2 separate regions of the Homo sapiens genome follow, and region 1 is linked to region 2. Evidence: promoter capture Hi-C in human tissues and cell types (Jung and others, 2019). All regions are on one chromosome and are shown on one strand. The core of a region is centred on a gene start or on the middle of the fragment in contact, and the rest is flanking DNA. Distances in the headings are between cores, read along the strand shown. Region 1 overlaps ZHX1-C8orf76 (ZHX1-C8orf76 readthrough). Region 2 holds the start of TMEM65 (transmembrane protein 65).

Evidence for each region. The method cuts DNA at HindIII sites, captures the fragments that hold promoters and counts their contacts. A contact is called where the count stands out against the background at its distance.
Region 1: a contact is called between a fragment that was not itself captured here and the fragment with the promoter of TMEM65 in region 2, in 1 of the 25 tissues and cell types used here (hippocampus).

What each region holds. Positions count from the first base shown.
Region 1 is chr8:123,246,666-123,251,538 of GRCh38, reverse strand. The region is part of intron 2 of ZHX1-C8orf76 (ZHX1-C8orf76 readthrough); the gene reads left to right. It overlaps ZHX1 (zinc fingers and homeoboxes 1), which reads left to right. Exons shown (of 4, transcript NM_007222.5): 4 at 1,219-3,083. Among named protein-coding and RNA genes, the nearest start is that of C8orf76, 7.7 kb to the right of the region's middle. RefSeq lists an enhancer at 285-494. The HindIII fragment of the contact is 3,854 bases long and covers 109-3,962 here.
Region 2 is chr8:124,369,056-124,374,363 of GRCh38, reverse strand. TMEM65 (transmembrane protein 65) reads left to right here and starts at 1,663. Exons shown (of 7, transcript NM_194291.3): 1 at 1,663-2,510. The coding sequence starts at 2,207. RefSeq lists enhancers at 1,101-1,290, 1,502-1,796 and silencers at 1,521-1,750, 1,871-2,140, 2,271-2,400, 2,451-2,580, 2,591-2,640. The HindIII fragment of the contact is 5,376 bases long and covers 1-5,226 here.

The DNA.
Region 1 (4,873 bases), core at 786-3,285, 1.1 Mb after region 2:
ATGTGAATTTTTCTGTACAGTTTAGTTTGACCTTTAATTTTGTATAGATAATTCTTATGTTATATATTAACACTGTAATGGATACTAATTCTGGTCAGAAAATTCATCCTAAAACTACAGTTTTCAAAAGACTGTATGATGTATGCTATACATGCACTGTATTAGTCCATTTTCACACTGCTATAAAGAACGACCTGAGACTGGGTAATTTATGAAGAAAAGAGGTTTAGTTGACTCACAGTTTTGCCGGCTTAACAAGAAGCATGACTGGGAGGCCCCAAGAAACTTACAGTCATGGCAGAAGGCGAAGGGGAAGAAGGGGAAGCAAGCACATCTCACCATGACCGAACAGGAGAGAGAGCGAAAGGGGATGTTCCACACAACTTTCAAACAACCAGATCTCCTGAGAACTCACTCACTATCATGAGAACAGCCAGAGGGGAAGTCCACCCCCATGATTCAGTCACCTCCCACCAGGCTCCCTCCCCCGACACTCCCTGATTAAAAGTTATGTATGGGCTTATACAATTTCAAATGTAAAAACAGCCTATTTACATATGTTGAAACAATAAGATTTTGTGGTATCACTGTCCCTTAATAATTACAATTCAAGGTAAGATTTGGATGGGGACACAGAGCCAAACCATATTATATACTTTTGTGATAGCATAGAAGCATGCCTTTTTAAATACACAAAAGTCTAAATTTCTGAAACATCAAGTTATCCTTGGCTGAGTAAAATAATTTTTCACTTATAAGAGGATTCACCATAGCCTTCTCTAAATAGTTATTTCTTCATTTAAATATTGTTCAATTTACCAAAAAAGTTACCAAAACCTTCCCAAAATAGTTATTACAGGAAGTGAGGTACATATATATCTTTTGCACCTTGTATAGAAATAGAAAAAAGTACAAGTCTTTAGATTTCATAGTCTGCTTATTACAGATACTGACAATGAAATATATACTCCCTGCTCATACAGTTTGAAATAAATTATTACATAAAGATGATAAATGTTTATAAGCAAATCTAGCATATGAAGAACATATACATAGATGAGTTGCACACAAAGCCTAGTGTATTATGGAAGACATATGTGGCAGGTAATCTCAAGAGAATACAAAAGATGTATTTTCACTTTTATTTCTAAAAGTAGTAAAAATTAAAATATGGTTTTCTTTAAATTTTCAGTTTTTTATGATGTTTTTCTTTTTTAGCTGCCTAAAACGTTGAAGGAGAATCAATTCTTCAACTCAAGATGTCTGATTTACTGTGAATTTGCCCAATCTTTGATGACATTGAAAACGTTTTGGGGCATACACACTCAAAAAGCAGGATCCAATACCCAAAAGAAATGGAACTTAATGTTGTGCCAAAGTTAAACTACTGCAGTTGGTGGAAGTTCTGCAATGTAAATAGAACACTAATTAAAAAACAACTTGTAAAAATGCAATTTAAATTTTAATACAGTACATTTTTCTTCTAATATGATGGAGACATTCTGAATCTTAGACTTTCTGAGGGGGTTTAATGACCACTAGAGCTTGTCCTCATATTCAGTCCAGTTTAATACTGTATGTCTAGTAAGATGGGCTATATATTGCCTCTATTCTTTGAGATGTGATTAAGCTTAGAACTTTGACCAAAAATTTTACAGTAAAAATTGTTAGAAATGGGTAAAAAAAAAAAAAAAAAAAAAACCCTGATTTATTACTATGTCTTATTTATCAGACCCTGCACTAAGATTAAAAGTTGTGCATGGGCTTATACAATTTCAAATGTAAAAACAGCCTATTTATATATGTTGAAACAATAAGATTTTATGGTTTCACTGGCCCTTAATAATTGGATCCTTCATTAAACACATCCATGAATACCACTGTTTCTACTGTTACTTGTTCCATTAGAAGCTGATTTGCTTTTTATTAAACTGCAGGAAATTAATTCTGAAGAAGGAAAAGAAACTGACATGGTAATTTGGATAGGGTGAAGCTTTGAAATAAATACTGCACCAAAAATGTGAAAAAGAATCACGTAGTAAATGTATACTTAGTGTTTTCTTACAATCGTGGAAATCAGAAATGTTTATACAGGTGTCAGATCAGAATTTTTAAGAGTTATCTTTCAGTGAAATTTTATAACAGTTTCAGTGAATAGAGAAAAAATTCTGAACTGATCATAATGAGTTAAAAGTTAGCTTTTCACTTATGAATCATGGGAGTGTTAACTGTTAACTCTTGCCGTATCAGGAGACTGAAAGTTCATACTAATTTACAAACTTTGTAAAGACTGGTGCTGTTCATTCATATTGGGAAGAACCCTTTCTTTTGTGACCATAGGACCATTTTTCAAAATGCGCTTTCTTCGTAGAAGAAATGTTCAGTTTAATTAGCTTTGGATTTTAACATGTTTTTCTGAATGACCAGATGTAGGCTTAGCCAGTTTATTTTCTCTAATTTAATGGATAATAAATATTAAGCTCTTGGTTAAATGTTTTTCAGCCATTGAAAATGTTATGAAAAAGCCTTGAATATGCATGCTGCTTTCATTTTTATAAACTTTTTATTTTTTAACTATAGCTTTATTAGTAATTCCAAAATGCTGCAATGTAGCTGATTTCCTCACTCAGACAGCTGGCTTTGTGGGTGGCTTTTTTCATACTACTGTTAACTTTTTTAAAAAAGAAGCAATGTAAAGACCGTAATGCACTAAGCTTTTTTTTTTTCTTTTACACGTTTAAAAACTTCTTAAAGCACTCTGTAATATAATGATTAAATTGCTCCCTTTTATAAACATTGCTAATGTGGTCTGAGTTTTGTTTGACAATAATTTTAATGTTCTCAAAATTTGAAATGTCAAGTATTAGAAATGAAGCCTTTGAATATAGTTGTTTCCCTTGCAATATGTTAACTCTGTGTAGCTGTATATAACTATTAATTTCCCTCATCTCTTTTATAGGCCTGATAAAACTCTTCTCTGACGTTTGCTAGCTTTTAAATATATTTATTTGACAGAGCAAAAGAACCCTCTTCTGGTTGATTGTGACCTTGAATACAAAATAAAAGTAGTGATTAGTAGTTTACAGTGACCTTTTTTTTTTCATTTTATTAACAAAGTCAATTTTTAAAACATTGTGGTAAAATATATATCACATACTATTTGCCATTATACCAGTTTTTAAGTGTAAATTCAATGGCATTAATTATATTCACAGTGCTGCACCACCTTCACCACTTTTCCAAAAGTTTTTCATCACCCCAGACAGAAACTCGGAACCATTAAGCAATAACTCCCCATTCCTCCCAGCCCCTGGTAACCTCTAATCTACTTTTTGTCTCTATGAATTTGTGTATTCTTGATATTTCAAAGAAGTAGAATCCTAAAATATTTGCCCTTTTGTGTCTGGCTTATTTTAACTTATAATGTTTTCAAGTTCATCCATGTTTTAGCGTATATCAAGACTTTGTTTCTTTTCATGGCTGATTTATGTTTTATTGTGTGTGTGTGTGTGTGTTTGTCTGTACACGTGCACTTCCTCCCACACACATTTTGTTTATCCATGTATCTGTTGATGGAAACTTGTTTTTTTCCCGCCTTTTGGCAATTGTGAATAATGCTGCGGTGAACATTGGTATACAAGGATCTGAGTACCCATTTTCAGTTCTTTTGAGTATATCAAGGAGTAGTATTCCTGAATCATGTGGTATTCTGTGTTTAATTTGTTGAGGAACCACCAAACTCTTCCACAGTGCTAAAATGTTCTCTGAAGCATCTGTACCATTTTACGTTCCACTAGCAATATACAAGCATTCCAGTTTCTCCACATTTTTGCCAACACCTTTCATTTTCAGTTTTAAAAAGTGATTATAAGCCCAGTGCGATGGTCTGTGTCTGTAGTCCCAGCTACCAGGGAGGCTGAGGTGGGAGGATCACTTGAGCCTAGGTATTTGAGGCCAGTGAGAGCAATATAGTGAGACCCCATCTCTAAAAATAAAATAATAAAAATTATAACCATCCTAGTAAGTATGAAGTGGTGTCTCATTGTGGTTTTGATTTGTGTTTCCCTAATGATGAGTGATAATGTCATTAGGAAAATGCAAATCAAAACTACATCTTTTCACATAATTATTTGTATATCTTCCTTTGAATATATTGAAAGTTTGTTCAATCCTTTGCCCAGTTTTTAATTGGGTTGCCTTTTTGTTGCTGAGTTTTAGTTCTTTATATATTCTGGATGTTACAGCTTTATCAGATACAGTTGCTTCTTGACTTAGAATGGGGTTTGTCCTGATAAACCCATTGTAAGTTAAAATTTTTGTAAGTTGAAAATCCATTTAATACCCTGATGAACTCACCATAAACTTGAACTATCATAAACTATTACTATTTTTTGAGACAGAGTCTCTGTTGCCCAGGCTGGAGTGCAGTGGCACCATCTTAGTTCACTGCAACCTCTGCCTCCTTGGTTCAAGCGATTCTCATGCCTCAGCCTCCCAAGTAGCTGGGATTACAGGTGCCCGCCACCATGCCCATCTAATTTTTATATTTTTAGTAGAGACGGGGTTTCACCATGTTGGCCAGATTGGTCTCAAACTCCTGACCTCAGGTGATCCACCCACCTCAGCCTCCCAAAGTGCCAGGATTACAGGCATGAGCCACTGCACCTGGTCACAATCATAAATTATAAATCCATGTGTTTCTCAGTTTACTATGGGGTTAGGTTACCATGGGATTATGTGTTAGTAAATCCATCTTAAGTCCATCATAAGTTGGGGACTGTCTGTATTATGATTTGCAAATAAGTTGATCCTCATTATGGATTCTGTATATGCAAATTTGCCTACACATTAAAATGTATTTGTAACCCCCAAA
Region 2 (5,308 bases), core at 414-2,913:
CACAACGGAGCGGATAATAGAAGGTGTAGTTCATTGGGGATCACTACTATAACAATCTAATACTAACACATAGTTAGGAGACGGTTGATCCAGGGATCGAACTTTCCACAGTCTGTCTCTGGAGGCTACACACTAAACTACTATTCTGGAGGTGGTTGGGAATGGGTTCTTACTGAAGAACTTTTTTCAAACCTCACTTCCCAGGTCTGGGGCCTGTGATCCACCCCAGTGAATCAGAATATCTTGGGGGTAGGAAATTGTGGGGGGGATGGGGTGGTACTCCCATGAGCCTGAGACTGAAATAGCTCTGCAGAGGATTCCAGTGCACACTAGGGAATGAAGGGGGTTTCAAAGACAAGGAAGATATACTTTATGCACTCAAAAAGCTTTCATTTCCACAGAGAGCATTCTTAATTGTTGTTATTACATCACAGAGGCATCACCTTGGAATTTAAAAAAGAAGCGATTCCTTTCAATGTTTAAGAGACATCAGTGTTTCTCAAGCTTTCGTGTGTGTTATTACTGGAGGGCTTGTTAAAACCCACATGACTGGGTCCAATGTCTACGTTCTGATTCAGGAGGTGTGAAGTGGGGTCCACTATTTCTCACGTCTAAAAAGCTCTGGGACACACTTTGAGAACCAGAGTTAGAGAAGTAGGAGGCTTTAGTGGTAACAATCCTCCATTATTCAGTTTAATATTCTACTTACATGTAGCACATTTACTACCTACAAGTTTCCGGGCTGAGTGCAGCACTGTTTATGATAAGGATGGGATTTAGATCTTGATTACGCTCCAGCAGATTTATTAAGTGGATTTATTCTCTAAGGGTGCCTAAGCGTCATTAGACAGGTTCAGATAAAGCAGAGATCTCCTCCCTTAGAAGAGATTAGGGACAGCTTAATGAAGTAGGAGACCTTTCACCTGGGCCTTGAAAGATGCCTAGGACCTGGATCAGGGGAAATCGTGGACAATCAAATTATTCTTCCCGCTTTAGCACAGAGACAAAAAAATCACAAGCAACCACTAGGAAAGGTCTATGACATTCTTGCCTCTGCCTCTAGCATTAACAATTTGCATGCCAGCTGCTGGAATCTGAACGGGGAGGACTGTTCTCGTGTCAAGGGCTCAGTCTCAGACCCTCCTTGGGCAGGGGTGGAACTGGCTTCGCTTTCTCTTTGGGGCGCCCAGAGCGACTGCATTAGAGCCGGCCTGCTCGGCCGAAGCGGCGGTGGGCGCTGACTTGGCGAAGGGCGCAGCTGGGGCGCTTCGTTCCGGAGCAGAGCGCCGTGATCCCGTCGGGGCTGGGGTGGCAGCGCAGCTCTCCGCCTGTCCAGAGCGGGGCCGCACGCCGGGGCACCTTTCAGAACAAGCTCCAGATGTGGCCCCAGGTTGGGGGCCGGGTGGCAGCTGTACTACCCTGGCGGGCGAGGGGTCCAGAGCTCGTTTTCCCTATTCCGATCTGTAGGTTTAACGCCAGCACAGGGTGGCGCACCCTACCTCCTTCCACCTTCACGCACCAGCGCGGGAGGGGACGCGTGTGCACGCTCCTCCCCTAGGAGGGAGGGCGGCCCGAGAGCCTGCAGACTGCGCCTGCGCAGCCTCGCTCACACACCTCCCCGCCCCCCCGCACCTCCTTCCCCTTTCGCCCCGCCCCGTTCCCACTTCTGCTGCCGCTAGGGGTAGCGGCGGCGGCGGCGGCTGCGGCTCGGGAGCGCGGCTGCTTTGAGGGCTCGGGAACCTTACAGAGTGGGGACGTGGGGAGGCTAGAGGGTGAGAAAGCTGGCGGGAGAGTAGGGCGGCGCTGGAGGAGGGCGGTGCGTGGCTGACTCATCCTCTGGAAGATCAGACTGACAGAGACACACACTAGCCCGCCCCGCCCGCCCGCGCCGCTCCTCCTCAGCCGGGAGGCGCCCGCCCGCACCGACCGCCCGCCCTCTCCGGGCGCTGTCCGGGCCCGGCCGTCTCAGAGAAAGTTTTTCCCATCGGAGGGGCGGGAGCCGCCGCGGGCCTTTTGGAAAGGAAGTGGGGACGGAACAGGAGGCGAGAGCCGCGCGGGCCCGCGGAGTGCATGGTGCCCGGCGCCTCGGCTGCCTGGCAGGAGGACCTCGGGGCGGGGTCGAGCTGAGCCCAGCTCCTTCTCGCCTCAGCCGCGCCAGAAACCGCCTTGCCGGACGGCCGCGGGGGTCCCAGCTCCTCAGCTCGCCATGTCCCGGCTGCTGCCGCTGCTGAGGAGCCGGACCGCGCGCAGCCTGAGGCCGGGCCCGGCCGCCGCCGCCGCGCCCCGCCCGCCGTCCTGGTGCTGCTGCGGGCGGGGGCTGCTGGCGCTCGCGCCCCCCGGCGGCTTGCCGGGCGGCCCCAGGCGGCTGGGCACGCACCCCAAGAAGGAGCCCATGGAGGCGCTGAACACGGCGCAGGGCGCGCGCGACTTCATCTACAGCCTGCACTCCACGGAGAGGAGCTGCCTGCTCAAAGAGCTGCACCGCTTCGAGTCTATTGCCATTGCCCAAGGTAAGGGGGGCAGGTGGGGGGCGAGCCCGGGGGCCCCGACGCCCTCCTCTTCTCGCCAGCCCACCGGGAGCCCGCTGCGGCCCTGGATCTTGGACCCCCGCCGCCGCCCCCCTTCCGCCCCCCTCGCCTGTCTGGCCCCACGCCTGGGACGGCTGGGGGCGGGGAGACTTTCCGCCGCCCGAGTTTCCCCCAGGCAGGTAGGACGGGCGCGGGTCGTGCCAGGCAGCCGAGGCCAGCGCTAGCTACTTCCTCCCCAGCCTCCGAATCCGGAGCTTCGGCCTAAAATGCCAGTTAACGCTGTTGGGATTGAGTTTTGATTTGCCCCGTGCCTCCCCTCCCCAGCCCTCCTGTCCCTTAGCCCTTGCTGCTTTCTTGCGAGCGTGCACCCGTGCAGGTGGCATGCTGTGCCTGCTCCGAGAAAGTGCTGCAAACCCGCCTGGCAGGAAGAAACTTTTTGAACGGTTATCAAATGAAGACGTATGGGTGGGTAGCCAAAAGAAGGGGTGTAGCTTCGAAAGTCAGGGATGCTCATAGCTGCTTGTTTCCACACATGTCTGATTGCGTTAATTTCAGCAGCCAAAGGAAACATTTTCTCCAGAAATGGAAAGACAGATTCAAGTTAAACTCCAGTTTTGGTTTTTCCCAGAGGTTGAAAGAATGAAATAAATAAGGAGGTATATTTTTTGGAAATCTGTGGCTCTGTAGTAAAAGTCAGACTGATGCTCAAAAGTAATTGGGAATGATGAAAGCAAAACGATTTTTAAACTAGCATGTTAAAATAGGATATTTCTAAAAGGAGTCCAGAATGGGGTAGGGCAGAATTTGAGTCTAGGTGAAAAAGCTAAAAGTTCAGAAAATAAAAAGGATGAAAGGAGCAAACGACTAAAATGGATGTCTTAAAATATTTCTGCCACTTAAATACAGTTATGTAAACAAAACACATTGCTTCAGTTTGTATTACATTCTGATGTGTTTGAAAGTTTTAAAAAAGTTTACTCTCCTCTCTAAACTTGGTAGGTACATAAACATCTCATAGATTCCAAAGTGTAGAGCACATTGATTCGGATCATGCCATTTGATTTGCCAGACTTGAAAGTATATCTTTAGCTGATGTGCAGGAATGGAGGAAAGAATTATCTACCTCATGTAAGCAGGACGTTATCTGTACTACTTCAGAAACTTGTTTTAGTTGTGGCTTTTAATCAGATGTTTTCCCCCTCAGTTCAGGAAATTGTGGACCAATTTATAGTGGATGATTGATTCCAGACATTGTTTACCCACAGTGCTTTTACAGGAAAATGTAACGTCCGATCAATTCCGTTATTCAATGTGTAATCATGATGTTATATGCAATCATAATGAAACACTAGCACATTTGTAATCTATGTGTGCACTCAGTATGCAGTTTAAAAATAGTCAATTCTGAAAATATGCTCCTTGGAAAAATAATATAGTCAGTCATGTACTAGAACATTAACTTTTGAATCTTTCTGCACTGACAAGACTATTTGAACACACATTTTACCTTTTCCAAGTAATTTCTTGGAAATTCTGCATTGTCAACAAGTTACAAGATTGGAGGGCCCTATGAATATAGTTTTGTGGCAGTTCTTGAAAAACATGTCCTGCAAGGTGACTGAATAATTTTTTTCTCATACATTATTATTTTTTACATGCCAGCAGTATTGCAGTAGCAATGCTACATTTCCTAATAAAGATAATATTTTTAAATTTAACGTGGTTTTAAATATTCTGAAAAGGACCTAAGCACTTTAGTCAATGGAGATCATTAGCATCAATTAAACTTAGTTATGTTACTAATATGAGAGAGAAATTAGTAATTTAAATTGTCTTCTTTGCTCAGGAGAAACAGTCAAGGATATTTGAAACAATGGTTAGTCAGATGCTTATCTCTCCTCTTTATATGCTAAAGAACATCAAAGTTTAAATCAGCTATTTTTGCTGATGTCGATGACAAAATGATTGTCCTATGAATCAAATGACACAGATGCTGCTGCTTTGTTAGTGTATGTAGTCTTGGTGTTCACTTACTGTTTTCAGTATCAATACATATAGTTATGGAGATAACTAGAATCATCACTTAGGAAATTACCTTATTCATTAATCATTAAGGTAAAAGGGATTTTATTATGTTGGGAATGCGTACAGCTCATTCCATTGCTGAAATCAACAATTTTTTTCCAGCCAGATAAATGAAAAACTCCCATGTTTTCTTTTATTGTTGCTTTTTGAATAATGTTTTGAAGTACTCAACCGATGTATTGTGTGTGTGTACTAAGTGTACTTTCTAACAAAATTAATTCTATTTAAAGGGCTATTTCTTGCCATAGGCAATCTTGTGTGTCTTTGGAAAGGGTGCTTGTATAAACTAATGAAGTGTTTTGGATTTGGTATGGAAATGTTACTGAAAAAATATCATCCATGCTTTGATATGGCAGTGGAATCTGCTGTTGAAATTTGGCACATTTGCCCTTATCTTTCTTATATGTTTATCAGTAGGCATGTGATATAATCTGTGATGAGATAAAGCTTTGGAATCAGTTCGTAATAGATAAGGCAGACCTTGTGGGATATCTTATCATAGTTAAATAGAATATTGTGATTTTTAAAATTACAAACCAATTTCTTTCCCAATTTAAAAAAAAGTTGAGTTTGCGCCTTCAATTTACCTGCTCAGCCTGATCTCTCTTCTTCCAGAAACAGACCATATTCTGCTGATAGAGCATTATTCATGTTTTTACAAGTAGTACTGGCAAGCTGACATTATTACAGTGGCC